6 separate regions of the Homo sapiens genome follow, and all the other regions are linked to region 1. The links are contacts of gene promoters, found by promoter capture Hi-C in blood cells and fetal thymus (Javierre and others, 2016). All regions are on one chromosome and are shown on one strand. The core of a region is centred on a gene start or on the middle of the fragment in contact, and the rest is flanking DNA. Distances in the headings are between cores, read along the strand shown.

Region 1 (4,449 bases), core at 202-2,701:
ATTTTTTTTTTTTTTAAGTAGAGACAGAGTTTCACCATGTTGGCCAGGCTGGCCTTGAACTCCTGACCTCAGGTGATCCACTCGCCTCGGCCTCCCAAAGTGCTGGGATCACAGGCGTGAGCCACCGTGCCCGACCAAGGTTCATTTTCAATGCTGTTGACACGAAGGCTAAGATCACAGGGGAGGTCACAATTTTAGGATCTCAGCTTTTAGAATGCTGTCTTTTTAACCCCTTCAGCATTTCCATCTTATTGGAAAAGGGCAGGCAGGAGGGCAGATGGGAGGGAGGGAGGCAGTTGGGCTTTCTTCCTGTCCAGGGGCCAGCTCTGCCTTCCTGGTCCTCACTCCCAGCCCCACTCCTTCCTTCCCCTGTTCTGTGCCTCTCCTATCTACTCCTTCCACATCCCTAGCCACCTCACAGGCTCTTCATGGGGCTCAAGTGAGATAATGCAGGGTGTGAAATTCTTTGTCAATGAACGCATCAACTCTACGTTCCATTTGCTGTCATTATCTCCTGTATCTTTGTTCCACTTGTGCAGGTGATTTGTCCCCCCGCCAGTCCCCGTCCCCTCACCCCCAGTTTCATGGATAAGGACCAGCTGTAGACTCTGCCAGGCCCTGGGCAGTGTTGGTATCGTGCTTGGAGGTGCTGCTCAGTTATGCAACCCACCCTCCTCCCCCAGCCAGAGCCACAAAGCCACTAGGGCACTGTACCAGTTTGTTTATTTATTTATTTTTGAGATGGAGTCTCCCTCTGTCACCCAGGCTGGAGTACAGTGGCACGACCTTGGCTCACCACAACATCCGCCTCCCAGGTTCAAGCGATTCTCCTGCCTCAGCCTCCCGAGTAGCTGGGATTACAGGCGCATGATGTCACGCCTGGCTAATTTTTGTATTTTCAGTAGAGTCGGGGTTTTACCATGTTGGTCAGGCTGGTCTCAAACTCCTGACCTCAGGTGATCCACCTGCCTTGGCCTCCCAAAGTGCTGGGATTACAGGTGTGAGCCTCTGCTCCCAGCCCCACCGTGTTTAGCTTGGTTAGGCACAGAGCCTTGCATGAACCAGCACCTCGGGGACCCCATGACGAGGTCAGAGCGGGTGAGAGGCACGCACCAGTGTGACTGAGCCACTCGCTGGGACTCTGGGGGCAGCGTGGTGGGGCTTGAGATCAAGGAAGTGCCTGCAAGTGGATTCAACGATGAGACACTTCCCCGGCCCACAGGGTGGAGGGGTTGGCTGGAGGGGTTGCCTGTACTTACCAGAGACGGTCCCCGAGCGAGCTTGATAAGCTGAAAGAGACGCTCAGGAGAGCCCTGACAGAGCTCCCCAGGCTGGAAAGGACAGAACTCCCCACCGGAACTTTCATTTTCAAAGTTCAGCACCTCAGTTAAGTAATTAATAGGTCTGGTCACGTTCACAGCTCTCCAAAAGAGACTGATGGAGCTCTGCTTTTCCTCCGGAAGTGCTTTCATGGCAAGCCCAGAGAAGCCCCCTAGGAGGCAGCCTGTCATCCAATAATCACTTCCTCTCTCAGGCCCAAATTCCAAATCAGCTCAGCAATGGGCAGGGCGGCCCTGAGCCACGTCCAGAGGTTGGGATTTGCTGACTCCTGGAGGATATTCTGAGTATAGCAAGTAAGTGAACTCGCACAAACAATGCGTTCAGCAATGGGAAGAAAACAGCTGTTTTTGTCCGAGAAGTGTCTGGCATACCCAAGACTTCTTAAAGAGAGGAAAATATTAACCTAGAGCATAACAACCCCTTTCTCTTTTCAGTCAAAACCTAGACAGACTGTGTTGATATTAAGTTAACAAGTTCCATGGGCTAATACCTTCCGAATGAAATGAGAGGGTTCTTAAATTAATAGATGAAAACTCCCCTTCATACATCAGAGAACTAAGGAAAGGTAATTGCCCCCAATATTTATTTTCGATTTGGAAAATCCAAAGCAAGAAGGCTTTGAAGAAGTCAAGATCTGATTATAATTCTAGGCTCGGTGCCAATGGGATAAATTATCTGGCAACTTTTTTTGCACAGTTATTGATTCTATTTGTCTCTGACGCCAAGCGCCCAGCATGGCACAAAGCCTCACAAAGTGCTCCGAAAAGGGTGTCATCCCCACACCGTTGATAAGGCTCAGAGTCTCTCCACGGCCATAATGCAACCCCCTCCTCCCCAGGGGGCTGTTGGCACCTCAACCCACTAAGGGATCAGGAAGTAGAGTTTGCCAGTGAGGAGCCTGGAGACTTCAAGCCTGTTTGGCCTTGGTGTTCTTGTGATTTAGTGCCCTGGACTGGCAGGTCTAGGGACTTTTTGCTCTAGACAAACTTTTTAAATAGGCCAGGTGCAGTGGCTCAAACCTGTAATCCCAGTGCTCTGGGAGGCTGAGGTGGGAGGGTTGCTTGATCCCAGGAGTTTGAGGCTGCAGTCAGCCATAATCACACCACTGCAGCCCAGCCTGGGAGACAGAAGAAGACCTTGTTTCAAAAAAAATTTTTTTAATAAATATAAATTTAAAAAATAAAAAATCCCAACACATGCACACACATACATGCACACACATACATGCACACACACACATGCACACACATACATATATATGCATGTGCAAAAGGTATGCCCAAGCTATACTCTCTTTATTTGAGTTTTAATTTACAGAAGTTTTCAACCTGGCCAGGCCTGGAATCATGGAGAATGGGCTGGGAATGGGTCTGCAGAGGTTCCCAAGGACATGTTTGAAAAGCATCCTCCACCTGGGAGAGCTGGGTCAGAATTAGCACACTCTAGGAGAGTTGGGGAACAGCTAAGAGCGGGGCACACCAGCTCGACTAACTGAGCCTGAGCCAGTGGGAAAGTCCTCATAGCAGTGGTCACTGGAGCACGAAACAGGGACATGGCTGGCTGGGGCTCCTTCCTCCGCCCCTCCCCAAGCACAGGTGGGCATGCCGTGGTGGGGCTGGGAAAAGGCCTATGGCCAGGGAAGCGCAGGATGACAACAAAGGAATGGTCAAGGCCTAACAAACAGAAACAGCGATGCAAATTGCCTAGGAGATGGAGCGGCAGTCACTGGAGCTGGCGTTGCCCAGACTTTGGTTGGCTTCAGGGTGACAGTTCAAGAAGGCAGCTCCTCCTGTGGGCCAGTGAGCTTGCTCCAAGAGCAGCCCTTTCCAGCTGACGCCCAGAGTGACCCAAAGGCTCTCCCGGAAAGTCCGGTTCTAAGACGATACAGCTGCCCGTCATGGAGCAACCTGCCCAAAACCACAGGGGGAAAAAAATCCAATAACCAAATCCCGGTGACCACACCCTGTCTGCAGTTACTCAGAACTCACTGGCCAAGGTCCAGGGAGCAGACCGAGTCAGGCTGAAGTCTATCCACATTTAATTTTCAATTGAAAATGGAAACAAGTCAAGCCAAGACAAACCCAGGGCCTGATTTAACAGCATCTACTGCCATGGCAAAGACATTGTCATGTGGGGTGCCACAGATCAGCCACCACCACCCCAGGGAAAGGTTGACACCACCACATCCAGACACTTTTCACTCACCTTTCATATAGAAGCTCATCCACTGCATAGCAGCTCAATGGTATTGTTACTGTTATGTTCTTTTTACAGGTGAGAAAACTGAGGCACAGGTTAAGTGACTCACTAAGCTCTCACTGTAAATGGTGGGGCAGGTTTGAACCCATGTGTCTGGCTCTTTGGTTCTACATGCGTTAATTCTGATTATAGTGAACGTCTGAATGGCTAGAAATATTTGGAGATTGTGCCCGGATGACAGCTGCAGAGAAGTGACCGTGGCTGACCCTGGACAGCAGTGCTTGGTCTTGCTGGGAATCGTCAGGTCCTCTGCCAGGCTTTCCTGGGGAGCACCAGGTGAAGTATCATGGATTTGAGGTCCTCTGTACTGGAGGCAGGACGCAGACACCAAGAACACCTCCAGGCAGGTGCTGATTCGCCGGCGGAACATTTGCAATGTGCTCACCCCTGTTGTGGGTAGGGGATGTGGGAATATTTGCACTATTGGGTTATACAGGGCTCAGAGGGGAAGGCATCGTGGAAAAGGATTTGGCTTGAGGAAGGAACACAGGAGACATGGCCATGCCATAAGAAGGAAGATGCCTCCCTTTAGATCAGGATTTGACATCAGAAAAGAAGAGATCACTCCAGTGAAGGGCCAGGAGACCTGCCTCCCAGGGCAGAGAACTCCCCGCTCCAGCCCCTCCTGGGGGGACCCTCTCCAGCTGCAGACCCCATGGTGGGTGATCAGGGATGTGATACCTTAGATGGGTCCCACATCCCCTTCAGACGCTAATGGTGTTTGGCTTTAGCCGACAATGCTCCTCCAGGGTGTGGCCTCATTTCCAATGTCCAGCGTCCTGGAGTCTCGAGGTAGAACCTTGAGGACTACCCTTGTTGCCCAATCTCATGTTTCCCTCTAAGGGAAAG
Region 2 (4,784 bases), core at 2,000-4,499, 680 kb before region 1:
GATCTGCCCACCTCGGCCTCCCAAAGTGCTGGGATTACAGGTGTGAGCCACAGCGCCCGACCCAGAAAACATTTTACCACAATTGACCTAACATTTGCTGATCATCAAATAAATGCACATTTAAAAAATTTTGGTGCATTTCTCATGAGAATGCTTTGGCGTATCAAGGACATTTTTCCCTGTACCAAACTAGAAACCAAAAGATGAAAAGGATTGTCTAAGCCAGACAGACTCTTCAGTCAAAACAGGACTGGTTTTGTGAGGTTGCTTTGGGTCCTGTCTCTCCAAGGACTGCATATTTCCTTCTTCGAGCTTTCTTAGTCTTGAAAAATTCATCACCTCACCTTATTCACCCATTATTGCTTCTTGTCTTAAGGTCTTGCCCTGCTTAACAAGTAAGGTCCTTCAGAGCGGAAACCACGTATTGAGTTTCTTTATTCTCCATTACACACTGCTTGGCATATGAAAGACAGCAAATAAATTCTTGGTTACATAATTTTTGCAAATTGGAATAACATATTCTCTAATACACTAGTGAAAGTCACATTACAAGAGACGAGATTGCACAACTTTCTCACATATCAAAAATAGCTCAAATGAATGTTCTGAAGGCCAGCAAGTCCTTATTATTAATTTAAAGATTTTCATATTTTTACTTGATTCAGGGTATTTTAAGTGTCTCATTTCAAAAAATAGTATGCTGCTGTCTTAATATACATTTTACAAGTGATGTCAGAAGGTGAAATGAGAAAACAGGAACAACTTCCATGGAAGATGGTTGTGCTCCATCCAACTCTTATAGTGAAGATTATTGAAGAAATGGCTAATTTCTATTTTTACCACTACTACTCCCATCATCTCTGTCATCAACATCCTCAATACCATGTTTCTTGAGTTCCTGCCATATAGTGAATAAGACTTTCTTCCTTGGTTGTGAAAAATAAGAATTTCCCCAGAGGAAAGACCTAGCTCAACAGGAAATACCCAGCTCTTCAAAACTGGATTAATCACTGCTCCTAATGGAACAGCTGGACCTTCTTACTCTGGTGGAAACAGAAAACTTTTATTTCTTATTCTTGGCAGTAATTAGTTGGCTGACTGTATCATAATCAGGTCCTGGTGATGAGTTTAAGGAGCATCGATTTTCAAGGTGAGCTTCTAGTTGCAGATGTTGGCTGACCCAGGTCACATTGGCCTGTGGGTACAAATGCAGCTACATTCCTCATTGTGTTCATTTCCCAGGGCTGCTGTAACAAAGTCCCACAAATTGGGTTGCATTAAACAACATAAATTGATTATCTCTTAGCTCTGAAGGCTGGAAGACTGAGATCAAGGTGTCAGCAGGGAAGGTTTCTTCTGAAGCTGTAGGCTGAATCTTGTGTGCCTCTCTCCTAGACTCTGGTGGATTTCTGGCAACCTGGCATTACTTTGGCTTATGAAGCATCACCCAGATATCTGCCTTCATCTTCACATGGTGTTCTCCCTGTGTGCATGTCTATGTTTCCATTTTTTTTCTTTTTAAAAAGACACGGTCTTGCTTTGTCACCCAGGTTGAAATGCCAGTAGCACAATCATGGCTCAATGCAGCCTTGACCTTCTGGGCTCAAGCAATTCTCCCACCTCAGCCTCCTAAGTAGGTAGGACTACAGGCATGTGCCATCATGCCCAGATAATTTTTTGCATTTTTCGTAGAATCAGGGTCTTGCAATGTTACCCAGGCTGGTCTTGAACTCTTGGGCTCAAGCAGTCTGCCTACCTTGGCCTCCCAAAGAGCTAGGATTACAGGAAAGAGCCACTGCATCCACCAAATTTCCTCTTTTTATAAGGACATCAGTCATTTTGGCGTAGATCTAAGCCAGTATGATCTCATCTTAACTAATTATATCTGCAATGATCTTATTTCAAAGTAAGGCCACTTTCTGGGGTACTAAGCTTCAACATACAAACCTTGGGACATGGGGGACACAATTCACTCATAATAATAGGAAAATTATTTTCCACATTTTGCTGTCACCTCCCCTAGATGACATTACCTCACCTCCTCATCTCTAGTTCTCAGTTTAAGTCTCCCTCACATATTTCTGAGCAAGTATTTACTAGTGAATGATGGTGCTCTCAAATACACCCATCAAACACTGCTTTCTGTTACCACCAGCCTGTTCACAGAGGACCTCTGCCTCTTCTCCTAGGTACCCTGGCTCTCCTGGGCACCAGCACTCGTGCCCTGGTTCCTTCTGCCCATGACCACTGGCACACCAGCACTCTACAGCATCTCTGGGTCTTGGGGTGATGAGGCTAGTCTGTTTTCTGGAGTTCTCTCCACCCAAGGTGCCTTCTTAAGTGTGGAGAAGCTTCTCTCCCACTTGGTCACTGTGTGCCATGAGAGGATCATCAAGGCAGGACCTACGCACAGATGTCTTAGGAAATCTGTAGTGAAAACAGACCCTGCTACATTCAGAAAGTTCAGGAAGCAGGCACTTGGTCAAGCCAGCCTTATCTGCTTACCTTTGTATTACATCTGCACATGCTTTTTTCCAGAATGTTCCTGGGTCCTGCATGCAAATTGACTCCAGGCAGCTGCACCCCACCATTCTGCCAGACATCCTCAGACAGGTCTGAACACTCCAGAAAGTGGTGGAATGCATCTGTGGGTCTTCTTTTAGCACTCCATGTTTCTCTTAGCACCATCCCTTCTAAGTTCACCCAGCACCCTCCTGCTTTTTATCCCTAAGTTTGAATCTGATCATCTTCTCACAGGGATCAAATAAACTGATGATTGCTGTAATCTGACATGATGTGGAATTTGAATTTTAAAAGAAGAAAGGGTAGTGAAGAATAGGCATGAATTTCTAATGGTAGACTTTGGATGCTATGGCAGTTTGAGTGGGAAAAGTATGGGTGCTTTCATGAACCAGCATGCACCTGTGTGCATGTGTGTGTACCTGGCATGTTACTCTGGAGCTTTTCTTCAAATTCCTAGTCCGAGGGTGTCACTTCTGGCGCCACTGAGAGCAGCAGTTTGCTCATGTTTCTTGCCTTTGAGCCCTTTCTTCAATTGAAACCTTACATAGATGTAAGTGGAACCTCTCACACAGGCCCCAGGTCAATCCATATAGGTTTGAATTTTGGCTTCTCAATTTTTCAATTGTATGATCGTAGTCAATACCTGAATACCTTGTGCCTCAGTTTCCTCATCTCTAAAATGTTAGAAACATTCTACTTAACTCATTTAGGTCAATGCACATAGAGTGTGTGAACAGTGCCTGCCACATGGAGCTTCTGGCTAGAGGGTAGATGAGGGTGAGTTCCCAGCAGCTCAGGCAGGTTCCTGATGTGGCTTGAATGTTTGTCCTCTCCAGATCTCATGTTGCAATATGATTCCCAATGTTGGAGGTGGGGTTTGGTGGGAGGCGATTGGGTCATGGGGGTAGATCCCTCATGAATGGCTTAGCGTCATCCTCTTGATGATGAGTGAGTTCTTGCTTAGTTCACATGAGAGCTGGTTGTTTCAAGGAACTTAGATCCCCCTCCTTTCTCTCTTGCTTCCTCTCTGGCCATGGGATACCAAAGTGTCCCGCTTTGCTCTCCGCCATTAGTAAAAGCTCCCTGGGGTCTCCCCAGAAGCCGAGCAGCTGCCAGCACCATGCTTCCTGTACAGCCTGCAGAACCCTGAGCCAATTAAACCTCTTTTTCTTTATAAATTTCCCATCTTGTATGTCTGTGTAGAAATGCAAGAGTGGTCTAATCCAGTTCCCTTCCTCTTCGAAAAGTGTCCTTGAAAGAACATTTTGAAGGAGAATCCCCCTGGGGTGACTCCTTTTGTAATTTCTGCAGAAGGATGAGGCAGGATCAGCTGGGATCTCAAGAAAGAAAATTGTGCCAATGTTCCCTGAGTGACATAATGCCTTTCTTTTGTGCTTCTCGTTTTTAAGACATTGACTGCCTTGGTGAATCATTCTAATGTCTCATGGTGGGCAGCATGCTTGCTGTGTGGAGAAAGTCCCAGGGCCCGCCTGCTCCAGCCACTACTGCTCTTGCTCCCATTTCTACCCACTTCCCTTGGCTATGCTCATGAAAAGTGTATTGGCAAATATTGTGATTCTTGGAAATACCCAGTGTCCAAGAGCATGTAGGGAAACAAGCTTTCTCACATGCTGTTGTGGAATGAAGCTTTGTGGGAGGCAGTTTGACAGTATCCATTATGATTTGTTAAGTGCACATACCTTCTGAGCAGCAGGTCCACTTTGTTGAATGTATGCAACAGAAATATCTATATTATCATGTTAAAATAATACAATATTATCATGTAACAGTATCATGTCATATATGGATATAAAATCTATATCATCATTTATCATATAAAATAATGTTTTTATTTGTATGTATCATTATTCATGATAATGGAAAAATAAGGAAAAATCTGTATCAATCAGAAGCTGGTTATAGAAATTACTGTGGCTAAACTGTAATGGTTACATTTAATTTCATGGTTATTGTTGGTTAATTTCATGTGTTGCCCGGGTAGGCCATGGTGCACAGTGTTTGCTTAAACACCAGTCTACATGTTACTGTGAAGCTATTTTTTAGCTATGATTAAACTTTAAATTGTAGACTTTTAGTAAAGTGTATTACCTGCCATAACATGGGTGGGCCTCATCCAATCAGCTGAAGGCCTTAAGAGAAGAAGATTGAGATCCCCAGAGGAAGAAGAAAATCTACTTCCAGACTGCCCTCAGACCAGAGCTACAGCATCAGCTCTTCCTTGGGACCCAGCTTGCCAACCT
Region 3 (4,391 bases), core at 397-2,896, 920 kb before region 1:
TGTGTTTATTTCTTTATTATACAAAAAATCTTTCCCCAATAGTAGTAATAGAGGGAATCCCCACCTTATGAAAAGGCACATTTAGAAGTTAGTTTTGGGCATTAGAATATTCTTTCTCAAAGAAAGAAGGGCAGGATCCCAGGACAGCTAACTAAAGCCCAGCTGAGCCATGTCCTGTAATACCAACAGGGCCAGAAGATGTAAGACCAATGGAACACTGACTTTGTGGGAAAATATACTGAGAATGTCACTGTGTCTCAACAAATAGCTTCTCTTTTCAGAGACAGGAGAAGGCTTCTCCTCCCCCTGCTAGGAGCTGGTTGTGAAAGCCAGGGTGGCCTTCAGGGTCCCTGCACCTACAACATGGTAGCTGGAGGGAGTGGAGAGTCAGGGCCTGAGGAGTGAGGTGCTGGGTATTCCTGGGTCCAGGGTAATTGAAGAATCTAGGGACACCTTTCTGAGCCAATAATCTGCATGACTTTTATTGCCAAATAAATGACAAACAGAGTTTATGCAGATGTAATGGATGACAATGAGGTCGTATTGGATTAGGGTGGGCCTTCTATTCAGTTACTTGTGTGCTTATGAGAAAAGGAGAGGACACAGAGGCAAAGAGAAGAGGCCATGTGAGGATGGGGGCAGAGCGTGGGTGTGGCACCTGCAAACCAAAGAATATCTGGGGTCACCAGAAGCTGCAAGAGGCAATGAAGGATCATCTCCTGGAGACTTCAAAAGGAGCATGGACCTGCCGACAGCTTGATTTCAGACTTCTGGCCTCCAGAACCTGGAAAGGATAAACTTCTGTTGTTTAACTACCCTGTTTGTTATTATCTGTGATGTAAGCTTTAAGAAACAAATGCAAAGAAGCTTAGTGAGACTCTTTAGGTTGTCCCATAACTAGCAAATACAGGCTTGACTTGAAACAAAAGCCATCAAGAATGCCCACATTCTAGAGAGGGCATCAAGATCTGCACCACAGAGAACTTCGTGGAACCAAAAATGCTGCCACCAGCCACCACCCATCACCTCTTCCTGTCTTTATAATGAAGTCTCACCATGAAGACAAGTGGGATGATACCTGGGGAAGCAGTACTAAGAAATTGGGGGTGCCCTTGGGGGAAAGGAAGGGAGTCTTGCCTTTCCAAGCTGGACATTGGCTTAGGTGATAGACTTGCTGATTTGCCTATTGGAGGGAAATGGAGCGGGGAGCAGGATGGGTAGGGGTTGGAAGCCCACATACCAACCACATGGCAAGGATGGCTGGGTTTCCTGTGGGTCAGTGGACACCCTGGAATGACAGCTGGGTTTGAGTCATCTTGCTCGTACCCAACAAGGCGGGATGTTCACTGGGCACAGGGAACCTAGCAGTAGAAGGCTATGGGATTTGCACCTGGTAAAGGGAGCTATGGAGAAGGGGTTGGAGAGGTCAAGCCAGAACCAGGAATCCTATGTCACAGAATTGTGCAGTAGGTGGAGATAGGGAAGGGAGATGACAGAGCCTTCAGAGCCTGCTGGAGAATTCAAACTTGTTCCCATAAGAGAGACAGTGCTTAGATGCTGCCCCTCAGAGAAGTTGCAAGTCAACCAGCCAGTACAGCTGCAGCAATCATCTGAGAGAGAATGCCATCAGAGGTCACATAAGTGAATAGAGACACGGCCCCTTCCTATCAACTGGAGGAGCTCAACCGGGAGTAGACAGTGGGCATTGCAGAAGCAGAGTTTGCCTCACTGCCCCACCCTTCAGCATTTAAGGTCCTACTCAAGTCTACACAGAGGGCGTACGACTGAAAACAAGATTGAGACTGAAGGTTTGCAATGGCCCTTCATTAATTGCCTTATCACTTTCACATTTTAAACAACTAGAAAGGTACGGAATCCACCCAGGACACTATTAAGGAGTATAAAAAGAAGACTCAACAGAGCAAAGGGCGGGGGGAAGTAATTAGAGAAATACAAGCATTTTGTGTTTCTAACCCAATGTCGTAAGACTCCTTGATGAACTGCTTACAGTCCCGAGTTCTTTCTTTAATTTAATGGTTATTAGGTTGGTGCAAAAGTAATTGTGGGTTTTGCCATTACTTTTAATTTAATATTTTGTTAATTTGCTCAAGTTGATAGCTACACAGACAACGGTGAGTGGGCTTGTCTGCTCTTCACCTGCTCATTTTTTATCTGTGAGCCTGTTGGGAAAGGCTAAGTTCAGCAGGACTTCCCTTGAATACTCTTAGGATCACAGGTTTATATCTCTGTCTGCCATGGCTTGCAGATGTCAGACTGGTTTTTTGAGTGCTGCTTGAGAAAGGAAGGGATAGATCAAAGAATAAATTGGGAATAGGTTCTTAGGACATCTCACCTACATTTCAAAAGGGACCCCTGCAGCTCCACTTTCTAGACATCTTATCTTAGAAGTAATGCCAAAGCTTGGTGTGAAGGAGGAGGAAGGTCATAGAATGGTGGTGTGGGAGACAGAGGAAAATACAGTCTGAGGATTGCGGGGCTGCGGCTTCCCCCAGGGCCTTACTCTCACTCCATCCTACCGCTATGCTACTGGGACAGCTGGCTCTGCCACTGGGCTCCCTCCTGGATGAACACTAGGGAGGGGTAAGGAATGTGGGTCAGGGTTTGGGGAGACCTCTGGTGAAGCAAGAGGGAAGGGGACCTTGTGTTTCTGGGCTCTATTTAGTACACACTAGAGTAACAGCTTTTAAAGTTGAATACAGCTATTCTATAGATATATGTCTATTAAGTAAAAATGTTCGCCAGTGTATACATTTTTTGAAATGTCTTTTGTTTCAAAATGTTTAACTGTTTTTATTTTGGAGAGGCTTATGATTAATGCAGCTATGAATTAAGAATTGGGAGACAATTGATCGCCACGTCTTTAGCCTTTTGCATCTTCAGATGAACTTGGTTTTCAGACAACCCATTGCAGATCCCGTCTTGAGTTATCCAGAGAAGTTTTATTTCAGCAGTCCGATGCTCTATTCTTGGAGGGCATTTTAGGACAAAAATTTTCAGTAGTAGCCATGTACTGGGGTGAGCTTCAAGCTAATGGGAGTCTTAGATGTAGTGGTATGCTTTCAGTAGACATCAAACTAATGATAAACTCTGCTTAGTAAAAGAAAAGTTATTCTACTGAATGCCTACTCAGAATACGATATCTTTACTTATAGCCAGTAAGATTTTTGTTGATGTTTGGGGAGGTGGAGGAATCATCATGACAGTATTCAATGTATAGATAATGGAGAGAATGTGTATTTTCACACCGGCACACTCAGAAGTATGAAGGCTTCATTTGAAAGAGTAAAGTGATTAGTTAGTGAACATAGTGCATTTCACAATTTTAGGGAACCAAATAAGAAATCAGATTTGAAGTTCTACATCAAAAAACAAGAATACCAGGAGGCTGTGATTACTCTTCAACTAGAAGAAATAAAATTGCCCATCTTCAAAATATGCAGAGTATCCAACTTGCAACTAATCCTGAGTTTCAAATCAATAGGGTTTAATATTTCAGTGGCAATCATAGGTTGAAATCAATGCTGTCGTGGCTCTTTGGGAGAATAGAAGCTTATGAAACAAAGGAATTGAAGGCAACCATCCAAGGATGAAATAAAAGAAATATGCTTTGCAAGGACTTTTGTGAAAAGGAAAAGTATGGCAACTCAACCCATCCCCCAAGACCCTTTCCTTCCAGTTTCAATGTTAGGTCCTGGAGCCTCAAGAAAATGGTTCCAGAAGATCAAGTGAAGGAAAAAAAAATGGGGACACCATCACCCTGCTGAATGTTTGAGATGAGTCAGGTGGTGGCTTTTTTGAAACTGGCGATGTGGAAGTTTATACTGATAAACCATGGAGCCTGCATCAGATCATACTGCATAACAAACCACCCCAATGTAGAGTAGCTTAAAACAATAGCCGTTTGTTTCATTCATGAGTCTGTGGGTTGGCAGTGTGGGCTAGGCTTAGCTTGGTGGTTTTTCTTGTCTCAGGTGACTTCATTCATGTGTTTGTATTCACCTTCTGAGTCAGCTGGGGGCTGGCTATGCTGGGATGGAGAATGATGGATAGAGTATGATGGGATAGCAGGTCTCTGTTCCAAGCAGTCTCTCCTCCTCCAGCAAGCTGGCCTGGGTTTGTTCTCAGGGAGGCTGAGTACATTCGAAGAGAGTGAGGTAGAAGCATGCAGGGACTCTTAATACCTAGGCCCCAAACTGGCAGACTTTCACTCCCACTTCATTCTCTTGCCTAAAACAAATTATAACAATAAGCTAGATTCAGGGTATGGAGAAATAGACTCCACATCTTAATGGGAAGAGGCACAAAGTCATATTGCAAAGGGTATGACTACAGATGGAAGAGAGAAGGATTGAGGCCACTTAGACGTCCAC
Region 4 (5,049 bases), core at 79-2,578, 760 kb before region 1:
ACATCCCATAAAACTGACACTCTAGCACTTTGTAGAAAAGATGGGCCTGGGGAATGCAAGGAGGGAGAGGAAACTCTCCAAGATATAGATCTTGCTTAAAAGGGAGTTTCACCTCTGATAATTTAGGAGGTCAGAGGGCAGGTCTAAGTTCTCAGCCTCTGGATGTAAGAAGTGACCAGGAACAATAATGGGCAAAAGTGTGTGTGTGTGTGTGTGTGTGTGTGTGTGTGTGTGTGTGTGTGTGTGATACATTTAAAACACATTTACTCTCCCTTGTTTTCAAACACTTAAAAACATATTTTACTTTGCTGGCAAGAACAGATAGGGGATTTAAAGGCTTGGTAGTTTCTATGAATAGCAATGCTGAAATGTTAAAACAAAAGAATTCAAGGTGTTTCCCGTAACCCCCCTCTCCCCAGGGGCATCTTGGGTTAATAAATTAATCAAAACCAAGTGTGGGCTGCAGTGAAACTATATAAGGGTGGTATCTCCTTGGATCCAGCTGTACATACCGGTGTCAAAACAGCAAAAGCATCCAAAAATGATCTCAAGCTAGGATGAAGCCTTGATCCATCATTTTTCACCAAAACTAGTGAAACAAGTGAATAATGATTTGGGGACACTCTGGAACAAGAGTTATTAAGGACTGACACAGGCACATGTTACTCTAAGAGATAAAAATGAATGAAGCAGTTGCTCATCTTCAGGATGCCTCCTCCCTCCACCCTATACGCAGAGACTATTATCCTTCTCCCCAATACACCACATACTCTTTTTGTTTTTCCCTTGGAGACCCAATGACAAGCCACAGGATATCTATTAGCATACATTAAAATAAGAACCATCGCTTGCAATCTCTACTTTGGTTGGGACCAGTCCAACATCCTAGCAAAAATCTGCCAAGTTTCTCTCTCCTGGAATTCAGACATTTAATCAATGACACTTGCTTTGCCAAGGTTGTAAAAATAAAACAACTCTCAAAGTGCTAAACCTCCATTTCGTTCTGCAAATGCTTCAGTTAATGATGGAAACATACAGAACCAGAGGCTAATAGAGTAGAAAAGAATTGCACGTGTGTGTGTGGGCACATAGCAAATGTTAGCATGGCAAAACATGAAAAATAGGCACAACGAAAAAGATGTTAACACAGAGTCCCAGCTAAATTTACATAAATTTACATTCCTGATTATTTCAAAAGTGTTATCTTATATAAAACTTCTGATTCCAAATTACAAAAAGTAGCTGTTTCTTTTTGTTTATTTTATTTATTAATTATTTAATTTTGAGACAGGGTCTCACTCTGGGGCCCAGGCTGGAGTGCAGTGGTGTGATCTTGGCTCACTGCAGCCTTGACCTTCTGGGCTTAAATGATCCTTTCTCTTCAGCTTCCAGAGTGGCTGGGACTACAAGCGTGTACCACCACACCTGGCTAATTGTTTTTATAGAGAGGGGGTTTCGTCATGTTGCCCAGGCTGGTCTCGAACCCCTACGCTCAAGCGATCCACCCGCCTTGGCCTCCTGAAGTGCTGGGATTACAGGAGTCAGTCACCACATCCAGCCAAGAGTAGCTGTTTTTTCTATATGTTGAACTTACACTAATTAAAATATGTTGATATATGACATATGTATGTACCTTATGAAGTCTTTTTTATGTGGCCATCGTACTGTTTTGTATCCCAGCATAAACATGTTATTTAACATAAAGGCATAGCACATAGTGACACACAAGATGTGCTCCCAGAAATGAAAAACACTATAGTTTCTAACATTCAAAAGCCAGCTATCATCATAATTTGCTCTTGATGGACAGAAATAACAATTTGCCTATATTTCGTGCTCAATGTGCACGAGTGCAGAGGGACTTAGCTTATGGGACATCGAATCATAACAGACTGGGCAGACTTCTCGTCATGATCTTTCAGCATGTGGGATAGGCTGTTTGTTCCTTTTATTAGGAATACAGCTTTATTAAAACAGAGAAAGGGAGATGTAACCCCGGGATACACAGGCTGTGTCAGTTTCAAAGTAGGTTCTGCAGCTCCCTAGGTATAGGAACCATCCATGGCAAGCCAGACATCCGGAAGGGTTGAGCCCTTGGTGCTACAGTCTCCCGGGGCTTGAGCAGGATTGCTGGTTAACTGGCTCTGCGGTGCACAGCACCTGTGGGGCTTGTGGGTCCCTCAGCCCCAGGTTCCAGCCTCCGGAGCCAGGGATGCAGCTGGACACAGTAATGCACTTCTAGCTCTCACTGATTGAGATTAAATAAAAGCAGGAGGTGGGGATGCATTATTCATGATTTTCTTTGTAATGGAATCCAGAGCACTTTTGAAGGCTCTATACTTTGATACTTGCTCCTGGCAAAAAAAAAAAAAAAAGAAAAAAAAATTAAGTTAGGGAGAAGAGGAGGAATAGATGTTGTTAGATATGTACTGCTTGCCTGGCTTACTGCAAGAATTCTTTCTGTCTGAGACCACCAGACAGTGGCTTGCCTCCAAAGAAGCCTTGTTGTGGCTTATAAAAGGTATGGAGACCTGTTTTAAAAATCAGGAGAATTTTTCCAGGTACAGAAAGGTACAAATTTTAACTCTAATATAAAGGATAGGCTTCTTTTTGACGTCTACTGATAAAAATAAGTAAATAAATTTTTCAGTTTATTATACACTTCAGAGGAACACTTAGGGCAGTTCCTTCACAAGAGAAGAGAGAACTGAAATGCATAGTCCCTGAGCTTTTTCTCCAAATTTACACACACTTCGCTTCAGCAGAAGCCAGCTGCAGATCCCACCCAGGTTCCTACGCTTCTAGCACTGACATACTCTGTACAGCGGTGTCACTTGCAAATTAGTCTTAGATTGACACCTTAAATGTGCAATGTCATCCCATTTCTCTTTGGAAGGAGACTTTCCAAGATACTAAACCACTCTTTTGTACCAAAGCTCCCACGAAATCATACAAAGAGCTGGAAGCTATATCCCGTTTGCACAAAGGTTTTGCAATATCTCCATGGAGGAACTTTATGGATTCGTGGGAGTAAAATAAAAGGAATGGAGGATGTGTGGGAAGTTTGTGTTGGAAGACATTTGTCTAGCCCAGTAGTGATTAAAATATTATAAATTGTGTTTTGTCTGGGTGGCTCCTTTGGTTTCCGATGTTATTCCTGTTTAATGTTGGCGGCTGAGGGTGGAGGTGGGAGGCAGGGAAGTTTCTAAGATTATGGCCCCATATCTGAGAGTATAGCCCACTCCTCCTCTCTCACCAAGGGACACATGCTTTGGGTTTAGCCCCAGACTGTTTAGGAAAGGAACTCTCAGGAGCTGCTTTTTGGAACTTCAGGTTTTTGGCATTGACAATCATAGCATGTTCCATGTGTTATGGGGATGAACAGATGTGGGTTCAGATTCACCGGTTAAATGCATGTCAACCACGATGCAGAGAAGACGCTTGTTGCTGGTTTATGTGCTGTGCCCCAAGAGCTGAACAGCTCACACATTCCCTCCAAACAGGCCCTGGAGGAGTCGAATTTGTCAAAAGGTGTCTCTGCAACTGAGAAGCTGCCTGCTGGGTTTAGGACTTCCCAGCAGTGCTGGCAGCTGCTTTAATTTGTCTGTGATGATGAGACCAGCAACGTTTGGTCTGTAACACAGAGGAGAAAAACAGGAAACCCTCCCCCTTGACAAACTGGCTGAAAATCCTGAGAAGCTTATGTTCTCACATGCACTTTCTTCCTTTCTCTTTCCCCTGCCCTTCCTTCTACCCTGAAGCCTTTATTTTTGTGGGTATAACACGACCAGTTGGGTTGGATTAACTCTCAAACATCATTATTCCAAAAAAAGGAGACAAAATGATAATGGCAATCAAAACCACGTTTTGCAGTTTGACAGTTTCTTACAGAACTAAACATAGTTTTACCAGGAGACTCACCAAGGATACTCCTTGGTGTTTACCCAAATGAGCTCAAAACCTGTGTCCATACAAAACCCTGCACACAAACGTCTATAGCATCCTTATGTGTAGCAACCAAGATGTCTTTCAGTAGGTGATGAAATATATTGGAATAATCCATAGGATTGAATGTTATTCATCAATAAAAAGATAAGAGCTATCAAGCCACAAAAGACATGGAGGAATCTTAAATGCTTCTTGCCAAGTGAAAACAGCCAATCTGAAAAGGCTACACACTGTATGATTCCAACTGTATGACACTCTGGAAAAGGCAAAACTATAGAGACAGTGAAAAGATCACTTATGATAAATCTCCAATACTTTGGATTTCCCGGGGAAAAGTCAATATTAAATTAGAAGGTAGTTACATAGTATTTTGCATAAAGCCTGCATTTTTATAGTTGCATAAATGCATACTTGGTTGCCAGGGATTTGGAGGGAGACACGGAGGCGTGAGTAAATGCAGCACAGGGGAATTTTAGGGCAGTGACACTATTCCATCACGGGGGATGCATGACATCATGCATATGTCAAAACCCGTAGAATACAGGACACAAAGAGGCTTCCCAATGTAAACTCTGGAATTTAGTTAATAGTAGTGTATCAATATCAGTATCAAATGTACCACACTGATAAAAGATGTTAATAAAAAGAAACTTGGGGCAAGGGGGGAGTCTTTGGGAACTGTCTGCAGTTTCTGCTCAATTTTTCTGTAAACCTAAAACTGTTTTTTAAAAATTAGAGTCTATTAATTTAAAAGACAAACTTTTTGGAGGTAGGAGGTAGTCTGTAATTACTGGCCTTTTGCTGGGTGGAGTGGGGACAAAGTGTCTGAAGGTGTCAGATGTAAGTAGTGAGCACTGCACAGACCTGGAATAATCTGGATTATCTGCAGTCACATTTGACAGGCTTTGATTTTAGTTAAAGTGCCATTTGAATGTCTGGAAGAAATTCCACTCAAATCAAGAAGTAAGTGGCCACCATTTCATTTTGGAGTCCCGTTCTTTCTCCCCTTCTTTTTTTTATTTTTGCTCACATCTATTTGTAATAACAAAATGGGTGAGAAAATAGACAAAAAATATTGCAATCCATATCTTCAAATACTTT
Region 5 (4,716 bases), core at 32-2,531, 640 kb before region 1:
AGAAGACATTAAAGTTTCTGGATCCTTTGGTTCCCAAAAGAATCATTCTCTTCTCCTGCCTATTGGGCTTCTATGTCTTACTTTTTTTAATATAAAGGATTTCTTTACAAAGAAGTGTGAATGTCTAGACATTTAGGAACATGCTGGAAGCTGATCAACTTTATTCTTGAGCCTGGTCTTATCCTACAATTGAAAATATATTTATAAATGTCCACCTAGATGACAATACAAAATCACCACCTAAACATTAGTATTTCTGTGAAATGACTGCTGAAAAAAGTAGGTCAGTTTATGGAAACCTCTCTGAGAGGCTGTGAGTTTAGTAAGTTTCGTGGTACTTATGAGTCAGGGCAGAGCTCCCAGGACAGCTGCCTGATAGATAGAGGTCCCTTCTCCTGGAAAATTTAAAACATGTCTCATCAGACTGGTAAATGTGCTAGTAGAGTTGAAGATCCATTTACTATCTGTGGGAGAAGGAAGTTTATTATATTTGACCAACTCATGGTTGGGTCCTAATAAAAGATGTGTCTCAAATTATGTCTAAGTCTTCATTCTAAAGCATGCCAGAAATTTTGAAGGGAAAGCTCAGCTAGAGACAAGCCAAAGATCTGTCTTGCATCTCCAAGGCGTAACTTAAGCTGAGTTATTGGAACACGCACACATTCACAGTATTACAAAAAAAAAAAAAAAAAAAGGTCAGCTGTGGCGACCGCCAGGAAGAAATGCCAGACACTGCCAGTTTGGCTGTGCCCTAACATATGTTCATTCATGGGCATGCAGCCAAAATGGGGCCTGTTCTTCAGTCCAGGCCTGACTTAATGCTTCATTACCTTACTCACCTCAACACAGGATGTAATGTTGAGCATTGAGCAGCAATAGCTGGCAACAGAAATCAATGTAAATTACTGTAGGTTTAAATAGTTGGATGTTTTTCCAGGGCATATTCCCAGTCTATATTCTGAAAATAACTTGATAGGGTACTTAAAAAACAATGTATCTTTGCTCTTAAGTCAATTTAATCTCATAAATATTTTCTTATTGTGACAATTTCCATGTAGCATGCAAAATACAAGTAAAACAAAGCTTTGATTTTCCTTAGTTAACTTATGCCTTTTCCAATAACTGAGTTTTAAAACTAAAATAGGAGCAAAAGACCAATCTTTTATACATTTGTTAAGTGTTCATTGTATGTTTAGTGTTCACTGTATTAAGTGATAAGATTCTCTTACAAATACTTTAAAAAATATTATTATTATTTAGAGATAAGGTCTCATTCAGTGGTCCCACTGATACAGACTATATTCTTATTGTTTTAATTGGCCCCTTTATGTCTCTAGACTGGAAACTCTATGAGTGTTGACCTTACATCCTTATCCCAGCCTCCACCAGGAGAAACAGAACAGAAACAGATTAAGCTAAGGAGAAAGCAAACCTAAAAATGCAAATTCAGTTGGGAAATAATGAAAAGTGAAAAGCTTTTAGAAATAACAAAACAAAATTACATTTACTTTTGTTCATTAATTTATTTTATGACCATTTGATAAACATTTGTTCTATACAATGGTATTTGAAAGCTTAAGGATCATATTGTCTTTGGAATACCAAATTAAAGAAACCTACTACAATAAAAAGCTGAATGAAGTAGAATATTTATAGATAACCTTTTAGCTACACTACTATTAATAAAATGCTAAATGAGATGTCCAGTTGCAGCCGTGATGAATTAATGAGTTTTAGACATAGTTGCCAATTCATGAAAGTAAGGAAAATACCTGAGGCAACTATTTTCAGATATTAAACTCTACAGTTAATGCAAGGCTGTGCTCCTCAAAAGAAGGGAGACACATAAAGTGAACCCCACATTCAACTCAGTCTTTTGCCTGGGTATGCTTTCCAACCTGTGACACAAGGAAGCAGAACCAACACTGGGCGGGGGAAACAGACCAGAGGCTGGATCAGCATTAGTAACTGAGTTTGTTGGTTGAGGCACTAGATAGAGGGGAACCTCACAGAGAAGGAGTTCTATATATCAGCATAGGGATTCCCTGGAGTTTTGAGTGACATACTAAGCTCTGTATGGGCAGATAAGACTCCATGAGGCCAGGCAGAATATAGTTGCTAGGGACTGTGAGAATGGAGAATCCTGAGGACACATAGTATTAAGAGATGTTGGGGTGCTAATGAACCAAAGTTGAAGTTCCAATTTTAAAGGAAAATATCAACATAATGAATGAACAGGTGGGAACTACCAGCTGATAAATGAAAACTATCAAAAAGAACAAGATAAAATTTCTATAACTTAAAAATAAAATAGCAGAAATAGAAATTTCCCAGGATGGCCTTAATGGGGATTGGAAAATGCAGTACGAAAAAAAAGGGTGAATTAACATAGAGGTCCATGGAAACCACCCAAACTGAAACACTGAGATGGAGGAGAAGGAGAAGGAGAGGAGGAGATTGAAAAAATATGATGAGAGCTTCAGTGACCTGTGGCACAATATCAGGTGATCTAATATATTTATAATTGAAATCCTAAAAAATAAGGAGAGAGGTTGGAGAAGATAAGAAAAAAAGGAAGGATAAAAGATCAAGTCATTTCCAAATTTGACTAAAAATGTCAATCTGCAGATTCAAGAAGCTCAAATAATCCCAGACAAAAAAATACAAAACAAAGTAATTTTTAGGAGCATTATAATAAAATTGATAAAAACTAAAGAGAAAATTTAAAGCATCCAGAGGAAAAAAACCAAATTAGATACACAGGAAGAATGATAAGAATTATTTTAGGCTTCTTGCAAAAACAGTATAAACCAGGAGACAATGGAATAATATCTCTACAATGCTGAAGAAGCAACAACAAGATTAACATAGAATTCTACATATAGCAGATATAGCCTGTGAAAATAAAAGCAAGATGAGAACATTTTTCAGGTAACCAAAACTGAGAGAACGTGTCAATAGTAGACCTATACTTTAAAGAATGTTAAAGGAAATTATGCAAGTGGAAGACAAATGTTACCAGATGGAAATCTGGATATTCAGGAAGAAATGAAGAGTAACATACCTTATAAATATGTGGGAAAATATAAAAGTTGCTCTTTTCTCAATTATTAATTTCTCTGTAGGCAAGAATAATAAAAATGATAAAAATGTGTGGTTTATAACATATGTAGAAAAATATATGGCAATAGTAACACAATGGATGGGAGAAGGTAAATGAAATTATACTTTTGTTAGTTTTTTATATGATGTGTTATTAATTCAAGATACATTATATTGTGCTAAAGACAAATATCATAATCCTTAGAGCAACTACTGAAAAATAATATGTGGTGTTCTAAATATCCAAAAGGGAAGATAAGAGCATATTATAAAATACAAATTGAATCCAAAAGGAGATGTGAAAGAGAGAAAAAAAGAAACAATGAACTTCTGAGACAAAAGAAGACAAATAGAATGTTAGGAGACTCAGCCATACAATCATTTTATACAATCATTTTATTAAATATGAAGGCATTTACTTAAAATACAAAAATTATAAGGCCTTTTTTTAAAAAAAGCGAAACTCCAACTATATGTTGTTTTCAAGAGATTCACTTTAAATATACGGGCAAGGCTAGGTTAAACAAAAAGGATAGACAAGCTAAAACATGCAAATAGTAATCACAGGAAAACAGAAGTGGCTATATGAATATCAACAAAATAGACTTAAAGACAAGTATTACTTTCTGTAGTTTTGTCTGATTGATGGAATGATTTCACAGTTGAAGAAGATCTTTAAAAATATCAAAAATCTCCCTAGGTGGTTCTCATGCTGTGTAGCAAATTGGAAACTGAAGTAATTAGAAAACTCCTCTCCAATGAAGGTTGATTAAAGAAACAGAGTGAGGAGGTGAGAGAAAGGGGCCTAATATTTGTGTTCATTATGAACCACTCTCCATGGGGAAAGAAAGTCAGATCTATGCTGAATTTCCTCCAAGTGTTTAAAGCAAAACCAAGAGGTGGAAACCTTCATGGCACTAGATTTCAACTTAATATAGGAAAGTACTTGCTGACTCATCGCGGCTATCCAAAATAGTCTCAACTTTTCACAAATGAAATGTGTTAATATGCAAGGCAGTGAGGCAGTGGGTTCCATACACTAGAGATTTGACAAGGCCAAGTGACATCTTGGTGAGGATGTTAAATGTGAACTTAAACATCAGCCAGCCAGCCCTGAAGTTCGTCACCAATGTGAAACTCTGTGTTTATGCATCAGTCTGCTGACTCCCTCCCTCGTTTGTAAGTGTACAGCAGAAAAAAAATGGAAATGCAATAAGTCTGACTTAGTCTGTTTTTAAGAATGTGTGTTGCTCCATAGTATTAACCATGTCTTGTTTAAGTCCTCACAAACCATCTACATAACAAGTGATTATTGAGTCATGTTAGAAATTATTATTTTGCAGAATTGGCCGTCTTCTTTTTGAAAACTGAGGTGACCTTGTTCTTCTTTTTGAAAATTTCCTATCCTCCATATCTCCTCAGAGGTTGCCAATGATTCAGTGATTGCCCCTATAAAGTGTCCCAGTCCTCAAGTTAGTTTTTGGTTTTTTTTGTTTTTTTTTTTGAGACGGAGTCTCGCTCTGTCGCCCAGGCTGGAGTGCAGTGGCGTGATCTTGGCTCACTGCAAGCTGCGCCTCCCGCGTTCACGCCATTCTCCTGCCTCAGCCTCCCGAG
Region 6 (4,603 bases), core at 1,498-3,997, 890 kb before region 1:
CGTGATTCACCAACGATATCTTATTTTTGGAACAGTAGCATAAGTTCCTCAATGGTAAACTGCTGCTGATAAAGCAATTTTCCATGCTTTGTTTTGTTTTTGGTAACAGGCAAGGTCCATGTAATTCTAGTGGGTGCTAATGGACCATGTCCCTTTGAAGGATTGAGAAGATTGTTGCAGATTTTCTTTAGACAACTGAAATTCTGCATCCAGTGAAGCTTCCATTTTTAAAGAATGAACTCTCTGCTTCCAACAAAATTTTATTATAGAGGAAAATGTTGATGGTCAGGTGAATCCTAGGGAGGTTTGTCCTGGTCCCCACCCACGCCAGAGTTCCCTCTATGCTCTGCCTAGAAGTGCACTGCTACCAAAATCAACGATTAATGGTTGAAAAAGTCTGAAAAATGGATATCCCTTTGGCCTTTCTAAGGTTTGTCATTAGTTGACATACCCATTACCTCAAAAATCAAATGTGTTTGTCTAAACATTATTCTGATGTTTACTTTGGGCACTAAAGGGCAGACAGCTGACCACGGACGCGCTGACAGTGATCAATTCAGCCTCGGATCTTGTCACTTTCCCTGTTTATTCTGCTATCAATCTCCCCTTGGCCTGCCATCGTGGCTGCTTTCTGCTGCTCAGGCGCTTTTAAAACTAACAATAATCCAATTTAGAATTGATCCATGAGAATGTGTGGTCAGTAAGCAAAATGACAAAGTCTGCGTGCGACTGCTGACCACAGTCAGGGGGTCTGTCTTACAGGAGGCTGAAGGCAAATTTTAATTAATTAATTAAATGCTAACAGCACTTAGGCCTCTTCCGTGGGGGTTCTTTAAGTCAGACCCTCTATGTTTCTGTGTCTTAGAAAAGGAGAAAACTAGGCCCACTCAGCATCTGCTAGACCAGGTACCTTCTACAAGAGTGCTGTGCAGGGAAACATTCCATTATGGCGGAAATGGTCTGTATCTGTGCTGTCCAATGCGGAGCCCCGAGCCACCTGTGGCTCAACTTGAAATATGGCTTGTGCAACTGAGAAATTGAATTTTTAATTTTATTTAAATTTAATTTATTTAAATTTAAAGTTAAATAGCTACATATGGCTATTGGTTCCAGCACTGGTGGTCATTGCTCTTCTAGAATGTTGAGGTGTTTGTGGTGAGGTAAAGCCTGGTAATGTTGTTTAGGATGTCATAGTGATCAGGAGGCCACAGCCTCCCCCCGATCCAGCACAGCTAGAAACCAGGCAAGAGAACTGAAAGAAGCTATTCAAAGGCTCCCCTGCATCCTAAAGGCAATAGCATGTTTGACCAGGGCAGCCTTCCTGCTCTGTGGGAATGGGGCTCCTTCAGTGGCCAAGACGGCCTTCAATTCAGTTTCTCAGTTGCACAAGCCATGTTCCAAGTTGAGCCACAGGTGGCTCGGGGCTCCTCATTGGACAGCACAGATATAGATCATTCCCACCATGATGGAAAGTTTCGCTGCACAGCACTCTTTTAGAAGATACAATCGGGGTGGCTCTTGCCCAGCAGAAGGGAGAGGGTGCAGGACTGGACATCACCAGGGAACAAAAGTGTGTTCCTTTTCTTAAAATCCCCCAAGCAAACCTCATTCTCAGCTGTATTCCATGTCTGGTTTCCAGGACAGAATGCTCCATTGGGTTCTCAACACCAACTGGCTCCCTGATTCAGGATCCAGGACTCAGGATATGCCTTGGCACCTCCTTCTTGAATTTCTCTTTTGGTTTTTGGTTCCCAAATTGGCGAGATCCCTAGATCCTGCATTCCTTGCCCCTTCCCTCAACTTTAAACTCCATTTTTGCCAAATCCAACAGTGGGGAGTCATTTGATGAATTTCTTCAAATGATTTGCAAATGTTACCTTCAAAGAACAAACAGTTTAAAAGCTAATTGCTAATAAGATTATACTCATAGATGATATTAATATTGGGGAGTGTTTTAAAAATCGTGAAATCAACTTAGCATTTATCTCGAGATACACATCTGCCAAAAAGCATGATTAGATTTTTTACAAAACCACATCATTTCTTATTTGAAACTTAAAGTTTATGGGGGCTATTATGAGCAAGTAGAAACACTTTATGATGGCTGTGATATAATCAATGCAGATTTAAAATGCTGTAGCAGATAACAATTTTCTTAGAAGGAAAGAGGTCTGGATTTTCTCTTGAGAGAAATCTCAAATCTATAATTCTTGCATTATTAGATACCAGCAACAAAAAAGTAAATACAAAACCCAGTTATTATTTACAAAAAAGAAATAAAAAATTATTTCTTGAACATCTTATGGAAGGAAAAACTTTAATTTTGGTCATTTAAAAAATTTAGTTTTAGATAAAGCTTTATGTAACATACTGTAAGCATTTGACAATGACAACAAAAGGATAAGAAAGCCTTTGAATTAAAAAATGAGAATTTAAAAAGCATATGTAACATTTATATAATCATTCATGGTTTCACTATCTAGAGACAGACATAACACAGTATTTTCTTATATGTGCTTCTAATATTTATTTTACAAAAAATCTAAGTAGAAATATTATGAATACAATATTTTTTCTTGCTTTTTAACATTGACATATATTTTCCATATTTGCACATTCTTTCTAAATATAATTTTTAAAAAGTTAAATAATAACCAATGGAGTGAACATATGGGATTTGTGTAGCTATTACTTTTTTGTCTGGGATTTAGATTACTTCTGAATTTTTTTGCTATTAAAAATAATGCCTCTCAATAGTCAGGATTATTTTGGGCTCCATTCTCAAAAGTGTAAGTACTGCATTGGAGAAAATAAACATCGTAAGGCTCTTTGCCAAATTGCTTTCCAAAAGGATTATATCAAAATATTAGCAATATTGTAGAGTACCCTTTCACAGTGCCCTCAGCAGTGGCGGTGATCATGATCTTTCTAAAAAAATATCTGGTTAATTTGATAGAGGTCAAATGTTACTTCATTTTTATTTTAATGTGTCATTCTTTGATTGCTGGTGAAGGAAAGTGTTTTCCACACATTTGCTGATTGTTTAGAGTTTCCTTTTTGGAAATTGCCTATTCACATCCTTTGCCAGTTTATCTATTGAGGCTTCAGTATTTTAAAACTCAATCTGATTAAGCTTTTTAAGAATATTAGTACTTTGTCTATGTAATATCTCCTCTATTTCCCCCCAAATAAAATGCCTTTTAATTTGCTTCTATTTATTTTTGGAAGAACAGAAGCTTACATTTATAACACAGTTAAATATGTTAATGTTTTTATTCTAAGTTTAATAAATTGTACCTCCTCCAGTGATGGTAAACATATCTATTTTTTCTTGATTTCTTATATGTTGATGTTTCACATTTAATTTTTAAATTCCCTTGGAACTAATTTTGTTGATTGATTCTAATCTAAATATATGTATGTGTGCATATATGTGTGTGTGTATGTGTGTGTATATATACACACATATATACATATGTGTACACACACATATATATACATATATGTACACACATACATATATGTATACACACATATATACATATATATGTATGTGTATATATATGTATGTGTATATATACATACATATGCGTATGTATGTGTATATATACATACATATGCGTATGTATGTGTATATATACATACATATGCGTATGTGTGTGTATATATACATACATATGCGTGTGTGTGTGTATATATACATACATATGCGTATGTGTGTGTATATATATACACACACACGCATATACACACACACACACACACACACACACACACACACACACACTAATCAGTTGCCCACTCCAAGGCTGTTTATGAAATGGTTTACCCCTTTTTCATTCGTTTGAAATATTTCTTAAAAATAAAATAAAAACCATCCATTATATTTATTTTTTATTTATAAGATACCTTATTTCTTGATTATTTTGTTCTGTTGATTCCAGAATTAGAGCATCTTACTTACTATCAATTTGCACCGTTGGTTACCGGCTGACAAGTCCACAATTCTCCCAACATCATTCTTTTTTAAAAAGCTGTTTTGTTTTATTTTGGATGTGTGTGCCTCATGGGAGGGGTGAGTATTGACTATCGATTTTTTTACTTAATGTTTTGAGTTTTAATCTTTCTGAATTCTTCCAGTCTCTCAAAACCAGATGATGTCCTGTAGCCCTCAGAGCTTTCCCTGACCCTTCTTGGTGGGAAAGACTCATCCTCTCTCTCACTTCCACGTGGTTCCATCTGTACTTCTCTTAGAACATCTTTACTTCCAGCCTTGTATTATAGTTATTTTTGGCACACCTTATTTTTATCTGATGATGTGTCTGTAATTGGCTGAATAATGGCCGTCAAAGATGTCTACACCTAATCTCGAGAACCCATGTATATTACCTTGCATGGCAATAGGGACTTGGGATTTTGCAGATGTGATTAAGCTAAGGATCTTGAGAAGGAGAAATTATCCTGGATTATCGGGGCGGGCCCTGAATGCAATCCTAAAGGTCCTTGCAAGGGGGAGGCAAAGGAAGACTTGACTCCAAGAGAGGAGAAGGCCGTGTGACCATGGAGGCAGAGATTGGAGCCATGTGGCCAGGAGCTCAGGACT

What was found. Contacts are between HindIII fragments. The CHiCAGO score rates a contact against its expected background, and 5 or more counts as called.
Region 2: a fragment that was not itself captured here is called in contact with the fragment with the promoter of LINC01426 in region 1 in 2 of 17 cell types (total CD8 T cells and total CD4 T cells); the score reaches 6.0 in total CD8 T cells.
Region 3: a fragment that was not itself captured here is called in contact with the fragment with the promoter of LINC01426 in region 1 in 1 of 17 cell types (monocytes); the score reaches 5.1 in monocytes.
Region 4: a fragment that was not itself captured here is called in contact with the fragment with the promoter of LINC01426 in region 1 in 2 of 17 cell types (M0 macrophages and M2 macrophages); the score reaches 9.3 in M0 macrophages.
Region 5: a contact is called between a fragment that was not itself captured here and the fragment with the promoter of LINC01426 in region 1, in 4 of 17 cell types (non-activated CD4 T cells, activated CD4 T cells, naive CD8 T cells and 1 more). The highest score is 7.4, in non-activated CD4 T cells.
Region 6: a contact is called between a fragment that was not itself captured here and the fragment with the promoter of LINC01426 in region 1, in 3 of 17 cell types (total CD8 T cells, erythroblasts and activated CD4 T cells). The highest score is 6.2, in total CD8 T cells.

What each region holds. Positions count from the first base shown.
Region 1 is chr21:34,742,827-34,747,275 of GRCh38, reverse strand. It overlaps LINC01426 (long intergenic non-protein coding RNA 1426), which reads right to left and starts at 1,451. Exons shown (of 3, transcript NR_038885.1): 1 at 1,260-1,451. LOC107985515 (a long non-coding RNA gene) reads right to left here. Exons shown (of 3, transcript XR_001755016.1): 3 at 3,338-4,449. RefSeq lists enhancers at 70-364, 571-1,070, 1,071-1,572. The HindIII fragment of the contact is 11,220 bases long and covers 1-4,449 here.
Region 2 is chr21:35,420,072-35,424,855 of GRCh38, reverse strand. The region is part of intron 2 of LOC100506403 (a long non-coding RNA gene); the gene reads left to right. Among named protein-coding and RNA genes, the nearest start is that of MIR802, 300 kb to the left of the region's middle. The HindIII fragment of the contact is 1,791 bases long and covers 2,354-4,144 here.
Region 3 is chr21:35,664,466-35,668,856 of GRCh38, reverse strand. No RefSeq gene overlaps it. Among named protein-coding and RNA genes, the nearest start is that of MIR802, 54 kb to the left of the region's middle. The HindIII fragment of the contact is 1,553 bases long and covers 870-2,422 here.
Region 4 is chr21:35,502,356-35,507,404 of GRCh38, reverse strand. All of the region lies in intron 1 of LOC100506403 (a long non-coding RNA gene), which reads left to right. Among named protein-coding and RNA genes, the nearest start is that of MIR802, 220 kb to the left of the region's middle. RefSeq lists an enhancer at 461-1,050. The HindIII fragment of the contact is 4,746 bases long and covers 1-3,701 here.
Region 5 is chr21:35,386,224-35,390,939 of GRCh38, reverse strand. The region is part of intron 2 of LOC100506403 (a long non-coding RNA gene); the gene reads left to right. Among named protein-coding and RNA genes, the nearest start is that of MIR802, 330 kb to the left of the region's middle. The HindIII fragment of the contact is 392 bases long and covers 1,086-1,477 here.
Region 6 is chr21:35,629,663-35,634,265 of GRCh38, reverse strand. No RefSeq gene overlaps it. Among named protein-coding and RNA genes, the nearest start is that of MIR802, 89 kb to the left of the region's middle. RefSeq lists an enhancer at 1-288. The HindIII fragment of the contact is 777 bases long and covers 2,359-3,135 here.